Linked DNA regions of Homo sapiens: region 2 is linked to region 1. The links are contacts of gene promoters, found by promoter capture Hi-C in human tissues and cell types (Jung and others, 2019). All regions are on one chromosome and are shown on one strand. Each heading gives the region's core, a stretch centred on a gene start or on the middle of the fragment in contact. The rest is flanking DNA. Distances are from core to core; before and after follow the strand shown.

What was found. Contacts are between HindIII fragments. The study calls those that stand out against the background at their distance.
Region 2: a contact is called between a fragment that was not itself captured here and the fragment with the promoter of PRDX3 in region 1, in 1 of the 25 tissues and cell types used here (spleen).

Annotation. Positions count from the first base shown.
Region 1 is chr10:119,176,644-119,181,255 of GRCh38, reverse strand. PRDX3 (peroxiredoxin 3) reads left to right here and starts at 2,444. Exons shown (of 7, transcript NM_006793.5): 1 at 2,444-2,501; 2 at 4,103-4,235. The coding sequence starts at 2,466. RefSeq lists a silencer at 2,302-2,411 and enhancers at 2,442-2,921, 2,921-3,565. The HindIII fragment of the contact is 15,713 bases long and covers 1-4,612 here.
Region 2 is chr10:119,616,705-119,621,087 of GRCh38, reverse strand. It overlaps the pseudogene RAD1P1. Among named protein-coding and RNA genes, the nearest start is that of TIAL1, 22 kb to the right of the region's middle. RefSeq lists an enhancer at 3,897-4,191. The HindIII fragment of the contact is 4,396 bases long and covers 830-4,383 here.

The sequences.
Region 1 (4,612 bases), core at 1,195-3,694:
TGGCTCACACCTGTAATCCCAGCGCTGTGGGAGGCCAAGGCAGGCAGATCACTTGAGGTCAAGAGTTCGAGATCAGCCTGGCCAACATGGCGAAACTCCGTCTCTACTAAAAAATACAAAAAAAAATTAGCTGGGCATGGTGGTCACACCTGTAGTCCCAGCTACTCGGGAGACTGAGGCAGGAGGATTGCTTGAATCTGGGAGGCAGAGGTTGCAGTGAGCTGAGGTTGCAGTGAGCTGAGATTGCATCACTGTACTCCATCCTGGGCAACAGAGGGAGACTCTGTCTCAAAAATAAATAAATAAAATAAAAAATAAATAGTCAGTCCCCATGCCAGCTTCTCCCAGTCCCTAACAATTGCTGATTTGCTTTCTGTCCCTTTGGAATTACCTATTTTAGATGTTTCATATAAAAGGAAACACACACTATTTGTTCTTTTGTGTCTGGCTTCTTTCACTTAGCTAGTGTTTTCAAAGTTCATCTGTGTTGTAGCATATATCAGTATTTCATTCCTTTTATGGATAAATAATATTCCATTGTGAACTACAGTATTTTTTTTTTTTTTTTTGAGACGGAGTTTCAATCTTGTTGCTGAGGCTGGAGTGCACTGGTTCAATTTCGGCTCACTGCAACCTCTGCCTCCCAGGTTAAAGTGATTCTCCTGCCTCAGCCTCCCAAGTGGCTGAGATTACAGGTATGCACCACCATGCCCAGCTAATTTTGCAATTTTTAGTAGAGAAAGGGTTTCACCATGTTGGTCAGGCTGGTCTTGAACTCCTTACCTCAGGTGATCCACTCACCTCAGCTTCCCAAAGTGCTGGGATTACAGATGTGAGCCACTGCGCCCGGCCTACAGTACGATTTTGAGCTCCAAAATGATTGTCTCCTTTTCAATCATCTGCTAAACACAGACATAATTAAAACCAATTAAACAAACACAAGGAAGGTGTGAGGTGAAATAGTCGAAACGTGTGTCCCCACACATCCAAGGCAGTCCTTTCCACATCTGGGGACTGGTACCCAGGGTGGCGCCTAGTGGTACCTGAGATGATTTTAGAAAATATACTGGGCTGGGTGTGGTGGCTCACGCCTGTAATCCCAGCACTTTGGGAGGCCAAGGTGGGAGGATCACCTGATGTCAGGAGTTCAAGACCAGCCTAGCCAATATGGTGAAACCCCATCTCTACTAAAAATACTAAAAAAATTAGCCGGGTTTAGTGGTGCACGCCTGTAATCCCAGCTACTCGAGAGGCTGAGCCAGAAGAATCGCTCGAACCAAGGAGGTAGAGGTTGCAGTGAGCCGAGATTGTGCCACTGCACTCTAGCCTGGACGACAGAGTGAGACTCTGTCTCAAAAAAGAAAAGGAAAAAAAAAAAAGAAAGCCAATTTAAAGAAAATAGTAAGTGATATTTGGTGATAAGAAGACTTGAGAAACGAAGTTGCTAATTGAATGACTAGTGATTGGAAAATACCAACTCAGACCGGGTGCAGTGGCTCATGCCTATCATCCCAGCACTTTGGGAGGCCGAGGTGGGCGGATCACTTGAGGTCAGGAGTTTGAGACCAGCCTGGCCAACATGGTGAAACCCCATCTCTACTTAAAATACAAAAACTTAACTGGGCATGGTGGCAGGCGGCTGTAATCCCAGCTGCTCAGGAATCCCAATTACTCATGAAGCTCAGGCAGGAGAATCGCTTGAACCCGGGAGGCAGAGGTTGCAGTGAGCCAAGATCATGCCACTGCACTCCAGCCTGGGCGACAGAGCAAGACCCAGTCTCAAAAAAAAAAAAAAAGAAAAGAAAAGAAAAGAGAAAAGAAAATACCAGCTCCAAGACTGCAATTTGTCACACTTACTGTAAGGCCACGGTGTGATTTTTATCTATGTTTGATGTGGTTGCTTCAAGTACTATGCTCACCACTGAACACTTGGCTTCATTAATAGACAAAAACCAAATTTTAAATTTGTCCCAGTTTTCCCAATTTTGGGAAGAGAGGCCAAATGTTAGACCACACACAATTCCAGCGGATTTCAGGCCAACAAAGCCTTGATGTGTCTAGCCCACTTAGCTTATTAACGGACTAAAACTGCATTTGTAATTAATTCCATTTCATACAGAAGCCGGAAGTCTCTACCTGAGGCTGAAATAAGAAAGGGATCCTGTCACAGAAATACTAGACACAGTAATCCACACAAGGTTAACAAAACAGTGGGAAATATGGAAACAAATACCTAATGCCCCGCCTGGATTCGTTCTTTTAAGGTTGGGGCGACAGTAGGAAAACCACGTGTCACTTGCCCAAGCATTCAGCCTTAAAGGGAATTTCTCCCTCAGGGTCTCCAGGAGGCGGGGAGGCGGTGGCTCCTCCGGCCCCGCCCCCCCACCAGCAGAGGGCCCGCTCACCACCCCGTAGGCCCCGCCCCTGCGTCTCTGCCCGCCCCGTGGCGCCCGAGTGCACTGAAGATGGCGGCTGCTGTAGGACGGTTGCTCCGAGCGTCGGTGAGTGGCTGTCGGCTGGGGACAGGCGTGGAGACACTGGTGGCTCCGGGAACGTGCTTCTCAGACAGGACCCCGCGCTTCTGGGCATGAGGGCCATTCGCCCTTCTTGGAGGGTTTCCGCGGGTAACGGACCCAGAGGCCTCCCTCCGGGAAGGTTCCATGCGCCTGCGCAGAACCGCCCTTCCCCACTCCATCCTCGCGGTCTCTTCCCCGAGTCCCTCCTCTTTCGGCGTCCCCGGTCCCCAGGCCCATCTCCACTTAAGGTCCTGGCCCTGATTCTGCCACCGACCCTGTGATCTTGGGCAAGCGCCTTCGCCTTTCTCAGACTGTGTACTTAAGATGGAAAGAATGATGCCTACATCAAGGCGTTGCTGTGAACAGCCCCTTAAATACTGGATAAAAACGCGCAAAGTGCTAAAAAACTCACAAAGGCTTTCCCTCCCAATCCCACTCCCGCGTGTTTCTGCTGCTGTTTCCTGCTTAACTGTGGGCAATGCGTCGTGCTCTTTTGGTACACGGCTTTCTCTGGTGGGGTTCAACACAGCCCCTTTCGTTCTCCTGAGTCATTTTGAACATTAAAGTTGAGCAAACCGGCAGAGTGCGGTGGCTCACGCCTGTAATCCTAGCACTTTGGGAGGCCGAGGCGGGCAGATCACTTGAGCCCAGGAGTTTGAGACCAGCCTGGACAATAATAGTGAGACCTTGTCTCTAAAAAAAAAAATAGCCGGGCATGGTGGTCAGTGCTCCTGGGGAGGCTAAGGTGGGAGGATCACTTGAGCCCAGGAGGTCGAGACTGCAGCGAGCCGAGATCGCGCCACTGCACTCTAGCCTGGGTAAAAGAGCGAGACTCTGTTTCAAAAAAAAAAAAAAAAAGTTGAGTAAACATGTCCCTTGAGCCTTTAACAGACTCCCAGAGGCTGAATTTGGCTCTTCTTGTTTACTTGTCGCTGGTGCTGGAGGGGCCTTGTTTTTCTAAGGAAAACCTTGAAATGGTAGAACATACTCAGCAGATAGTGCTGGGAAAAGCCTGCACAAGTCCCCTGGCTTCTGAACCCTGTGTTGCTTTAAGCGCATGGAGTTTCTGATTTTTTTTTTTTTTTTTTTTGAGACGGAGTTGTCGCCCAGGTTAGAGTGCAATGGCGCGATCTCGGCTCTGCAACCTCTGCCTCCCGGGTTCAAGCAATTCTCCTGCCTCAGCCTCCCAAGCAGCTGGAATTACAGGTGCCCGCCACCGCCGCCTGGCTAAGTTTTGTGTTTTTAGTAGAGATGGAGTTTCACCATCTTGGCCAGGCTGGTCTCGAACTCCTGACCTGGTGATCAACCCGTCTTGGCCTCCCAAAGTGCTGGGATTACAGGTGTGAGCAACCGCGCCCAGCCGGTCTTTGTGTTCTTATAGTTCCTCTCCACCTTCCAGTCTCCTAGGAGAAGGAAGCAGAAGGGAGTGTTAAGAACATGCAGATCCAATCCATGCTCTTAGAGTTTGGGGTTTGCTATTTGGTTCACAGGAACAGGGACAGCTGAAACCACCGTTGGCACGATGCCCTTTCAGCCTTCAGTCACCAGTCCAGGAAAACTTTCTAATAAAAAGTTTCTCTTTCCAGGTTGCCCGACATGTGAGTGCCATTCCTTGGGGCATTTCTGCCACTGCAGCCCTCAGGCCTGCTGCATGTGGAAGAACGAGCTTGACAAATTTATTGTGTTCTGGTTCCAGTCAAGCAAAATTATTCAGCACCAGTAAGTGTTATGTCATGTCTTGGCTGGAGCCAGGTAAAGGAAAAATGAACCATCGTCTCTGGACAGGGGCTCTGAACCCTGGCCAAACGTTAGAGTCACCTGGGAGCTTTCAGGAACACAGCACTGCCCCCGTCCCACCCCAGACAAGTTAGTCTGTGGGGTGAGACCAGGATGTGCCGGGTGATTCTAACGTGCAGCCAGGGTTGAGAATCACTGAGGCAAACTGCCCTTGTCACATTTCCATGTTGGTTGTCAGAGTTTCTAATCCACTGTGTTGAGGAGGGTGTTACTGGGAGCTCAGATGCCTTCTGAGTCTAGTGTGTCTGAAGAGCTGTGAGTGGTGGGCAGCCTGTGGGGGACCTGAGAGGGCAGCTGCT
Region 2 (4,383 bases), core at 1,778-4,277, 440 kb before region 1:
TGTTGGGTCAGGAGGGGCATCGCCCACTGCACATTCGGCCCCAAGGGATGCTCCTGGGGCCTGTTCCTGCAGATCGCGAAACACCTTTGCAGGGGGATCTGGATGCTGGAGAGCCTCTCCCAGCAAATTCCCTGAGGCGGAGCAAGGCAGCTCCAGGAAACTGCAGAGGAAGTGAAGCAGCCCCTGCCACTCTTCAGATCAGCCTTCCACTTCCTTTCCAAGCATTTTCTTGTAAAGGTAATGAAGAGTTAGTTCATCCAAAGATGATGATCAAATTAGTGGAGGGCCTCTTGAAAACAATCTGTTCTATACTGAAGTCAACTGGGTTCTAGCCACAAGTTGCTTTTACTACTCTTCCCCTTAGATAGTTGGTGGTTTTTGCCAGAGAAGCCCCACTGTTCTCTGTTGGTGCAGCCATTTTTGCACGACTCATCAGGCAGTTTATAGCACAATTTAGAAACACCAGGGATAGCAGAATTACGAATCATGCTGTCTGCTGATGTAAACTCTATTTGGATACAATAATGTTTTTAAATAACCTCAAATACAATTACACCCTGAGGATGGGGCTGGTTGAATGACTACAGGAATATCATTCAGATAGTTCATTAACTAATTACAGAGCACCACAAACAGAGCCTACTGCCAGGGAGGGGCTGTGGGGATGAATCACAGGGCTGAGCTCAGGGGCCAGAGTGATGTTCAGTTCTTTTCTGGTGCTGGCATCACAAGGTGGCACTCTTGACTGAAAGAGGGAGGCTCTTTCCTCCTCTCCTGTCTCTCTAGCACCCGTGGGAAGGTGCTACGCGAGGCCCAGAAATACATGCCAGGGTCATATGGCTTCAAAAAGCTCTCTTCCCTCCCCTCGTCACTCACTGCACTTGTAACTGAAGACAAAGTCTCAGGCAGGGTGCGGTAGCTCCCGCCTGTAATCCCAGCACTTTGGGAAGCCAAGGCGGGTGGATCACCTGAGGTCAGGAGTTCAAGACCAGCCTGGCCAACATGGTGAAACCTCATCTCTACTAAAATACAAAAATTAGCCGGGCATGGTGGTGGGCACCTGTAATCCCAGCTACTCTGGAGGCTGAGGCAGGAGAATTGCTTGAACCCGGGAGGTGGAGGTTGCAGTAAGCCAAGATTGCGCCACTGCACTGCAGCCTGGGTAACAGAGCGAGACTCCATCTCACAAAAAAAAAAACAAAAAGTCTCAGAGAGCTCTGGGCAGGCAGGTTACTGGTCGCCTATTTAGTTACTGAAGCTGTTGTGTTTTGCTTTCTTGAGGAGTTTGAGCACTGCATGGAAGAAAGGTTTATTAGGGACAAATGGGCCCCACTGCCCTGCTGCCTGGGAGCACTTGCCAGAGGATCTTGGGTCTTCACTACACAGGACAGGAGTGACCACCCGCCAGCTGGGCTGGTTGTAGTGCCGGCACGTGGTAGGGTTAAAAAATCGTTTAAAGTTATAAAAGTGTTTGCAAAGCATATGGGAGCCCTGCTACTTTGGGCAAGCCTCTCTTTGAATCTTGGTTTCTTCAACTGTAAATGGGATTAGTAGTAGTGGTATCCACCTCAAAGAGTTATTGGATCAAACGATATAAAAAATGTGAAGTGCTTAGTACAATGCTTGGCAAAGAAGCCAGGGCTCAGTAAATGTGCAGGCCCTTCCTCTCATTGTCATTTGGCTTCATGCACGCTTACATATGGCCTTCAGAAGAGAACAGATTCAGATCTCTGTTCCTTAGCCCCAAGCATGCACCTGTCAGCATTCAGGCCCATGGTTATTTGGCCAGCCTTGTAATGATACTAAAGACTGACTATTCAGAATGTTTCTTCTGAACTTTCAAAATCAATGACAGTTGCACACTATCTCCTTTCAGGCAAAGGTCCCTCCAGCAGACCCTCTCCCCACCTTGTTTTGAAAAAAGCATTATTTAAGGGAAATATAACTGAGCCTGGCTGGCTGTACTACCTTATTTTTCTATTTCCCTCCAAAGTGAATGCCAGACATTTCTAGGCCAAAGACAGGATTAACATTTCTCAGCCTAGTAAACACACCCATCTGGATTCAACCCGGGGAGCACCAGCACTGCAACCGTTTCCTGTAATCGGCTTGAACGATCCAGGCTGTAAGCTTGAAAATGAAATTCTGGAAACGATATTTCCATCCTGGAAGCTGTTTCAATTACAGCTTCTTGCAGATGAACCTCAGATAAGCGGCAAACTTACAAGCCCTGGCACGGATGTAATGAGTCTGCACGATGGGAACCTGGCCATGCTACAAGGAAGAGGCTGCCTGTAGGCTGAGAATATAATCGCTGGACAGAGCCACAAACCTGTGCTGAGCACCTGCAGCGCGGCAGACATCCGGTGAGACTCTGAGAACCACAGGGAGCTGAACGTGGGCCCCATCCTCAGAGACTTTTGGTTCAGTGGAGGAGATGTATTACCAGGCCATTTTATGTAATAGGCTGAGATGGTGCTCAACCCTGGTGCTGTGAAAACATTAGCCCAGCTTGGGATTGAGGAAGTGATCCCCGAGCTGAATCTCCATAATTAAGCAACAGTCAGCTGTGTGAAGTAAGGTGGAAAGGATATTCGAAGCAAGGGTAAGAGCAAGCAGAGACCCAAAGATATGGAACAGGAGTGTGTGTGTGTGTGTGTGTGTGTGTGTGTGTGTGTGTATGTTTGTCCGTGCATGTGTATCTGAGTCTAGCCAGCCCAGTATTCAAGTACAGGAAAGGGAGTGCCCTGGGAGTAACTGGGTGTACGTTTGCCCTTCACCATCATTTTTAGCATCAGAAAGTCCTTCAGAAACTGCCCCAAAATCTTGGGTTCAAGACACCAGACTTCTAGGGTGTGGGATTCAGGCCCAGTGAGTCTCCCCGAGGTTTGCAGAGGCCAAGCCTTTACATTTCTAATCTTTAGTTTACAGTGGGGCCTCGGTATTACTAATAGAATTAGGGTTCAGTAGGTGTCCAAACAGCCAGTTCATGGAAGCTGAGGAACCTGAGCCCAGAGGGAAACTTCAGGACACACAGCAATCAATCCTGGAACGTCTCTGAGTTTCAGGGCAGTTTTGGAGGTCATTAGGGAGGTAGCAGCGGGCTGATTTGATAACAGGTGCCACCTTGCTGACTCTTCTTCCAGTGTGAAAATGACTTGGGAGCACAACAGAGGCTCCTTTTGAAGGCTGGTCCATGAAGCAGATGCCTCTATTTGTTCTTTTTTCTTTTTCAGAGACAGGTTCTTGCTCTGTCACCCAGGCTGGAGTGCAGTGGTGTGATCGCAGCTCAGTGAAGCCTTGAACTCCACAGCTCACACGATCTTTCTGCCTCAGCCTCCTGAGTAGCTGGGACTACAGACATGCACCACCACACTCAGCTGATTTCTTATTTAAGAAAAATTTTTTAGAGACAAGTCTTGCTCTCTTGCCCAGGCTGCTCTTGAACTCTCACCCTCAAGCGATTCTCCCACCTCAGCTTCCTGAGTAGCTGGGATTACAAATGCAAGCCACCACGCCCAACGTTGTTCATTTTTTATATGTTTCACAGTGTATTAGTCCGTTTTTATGCTACTGATAAAAACATACCCAAGACTGGGAAGATAAAGAGGTTTAATTTGACTTACGGTTTCACATGGCTGGGTAGGTCTCATAATCATGGCGGAGGGCAAAGGGCACTTCTTACATGGCAGCAGCAAGAGAAAATGAGGAAGAAGCAAACGAGGAAACCCCTGATCAAACCATCAGATCTCGTGAGACTTATTCACTATCATGAGAACAGCACGGAAAAGACAAGCCCCCATGATTCAATTACCTCCCCCAGGTCTCTCCCACAACACATGGGAATTCCAGGAGATACAGTTGAAGTTGAGATTTGAATGGGGACACAGCCAAGCCATATCACACAGTTTGGGTGAAGGATACTTAATAAGGGAGGGCGCAACATACAAAAACTGCAACATCTGGCTGCCATCAGCTCCTCCACCAGCGCCCCCGCGTGGGAATTAGTGGAGCGCCAGACAGTCCTAAGGTCAAGTCAGTCCTAAACTTGCAGTTGTTTGTGAGACTTACATCACTTAATTTCACAAACCTCACTGTTCAAATGGGGACAATCAGGCTTATGAGTAGTTGTGGGTGTCAAATGAATGTTCGTATGAGGTCTGGCATCACAATGAGTATTTTAATGGATCTTATCCAGATGCCTCCAGATGCTATTGGATAAAAGGTTGCAGCTAACAACTGACCTTGAATTTTTCTGGCTACTTGGGGGGCAGTGCTGCCCTTCAGTTTGGAGACTCCCCTTAGTGTCACCACGGTAGGCAGTGGGGTCAGCCCATCCATAATTACACTCAGAAAACCAGAGGCAGCAGTACCTGAGGGCCT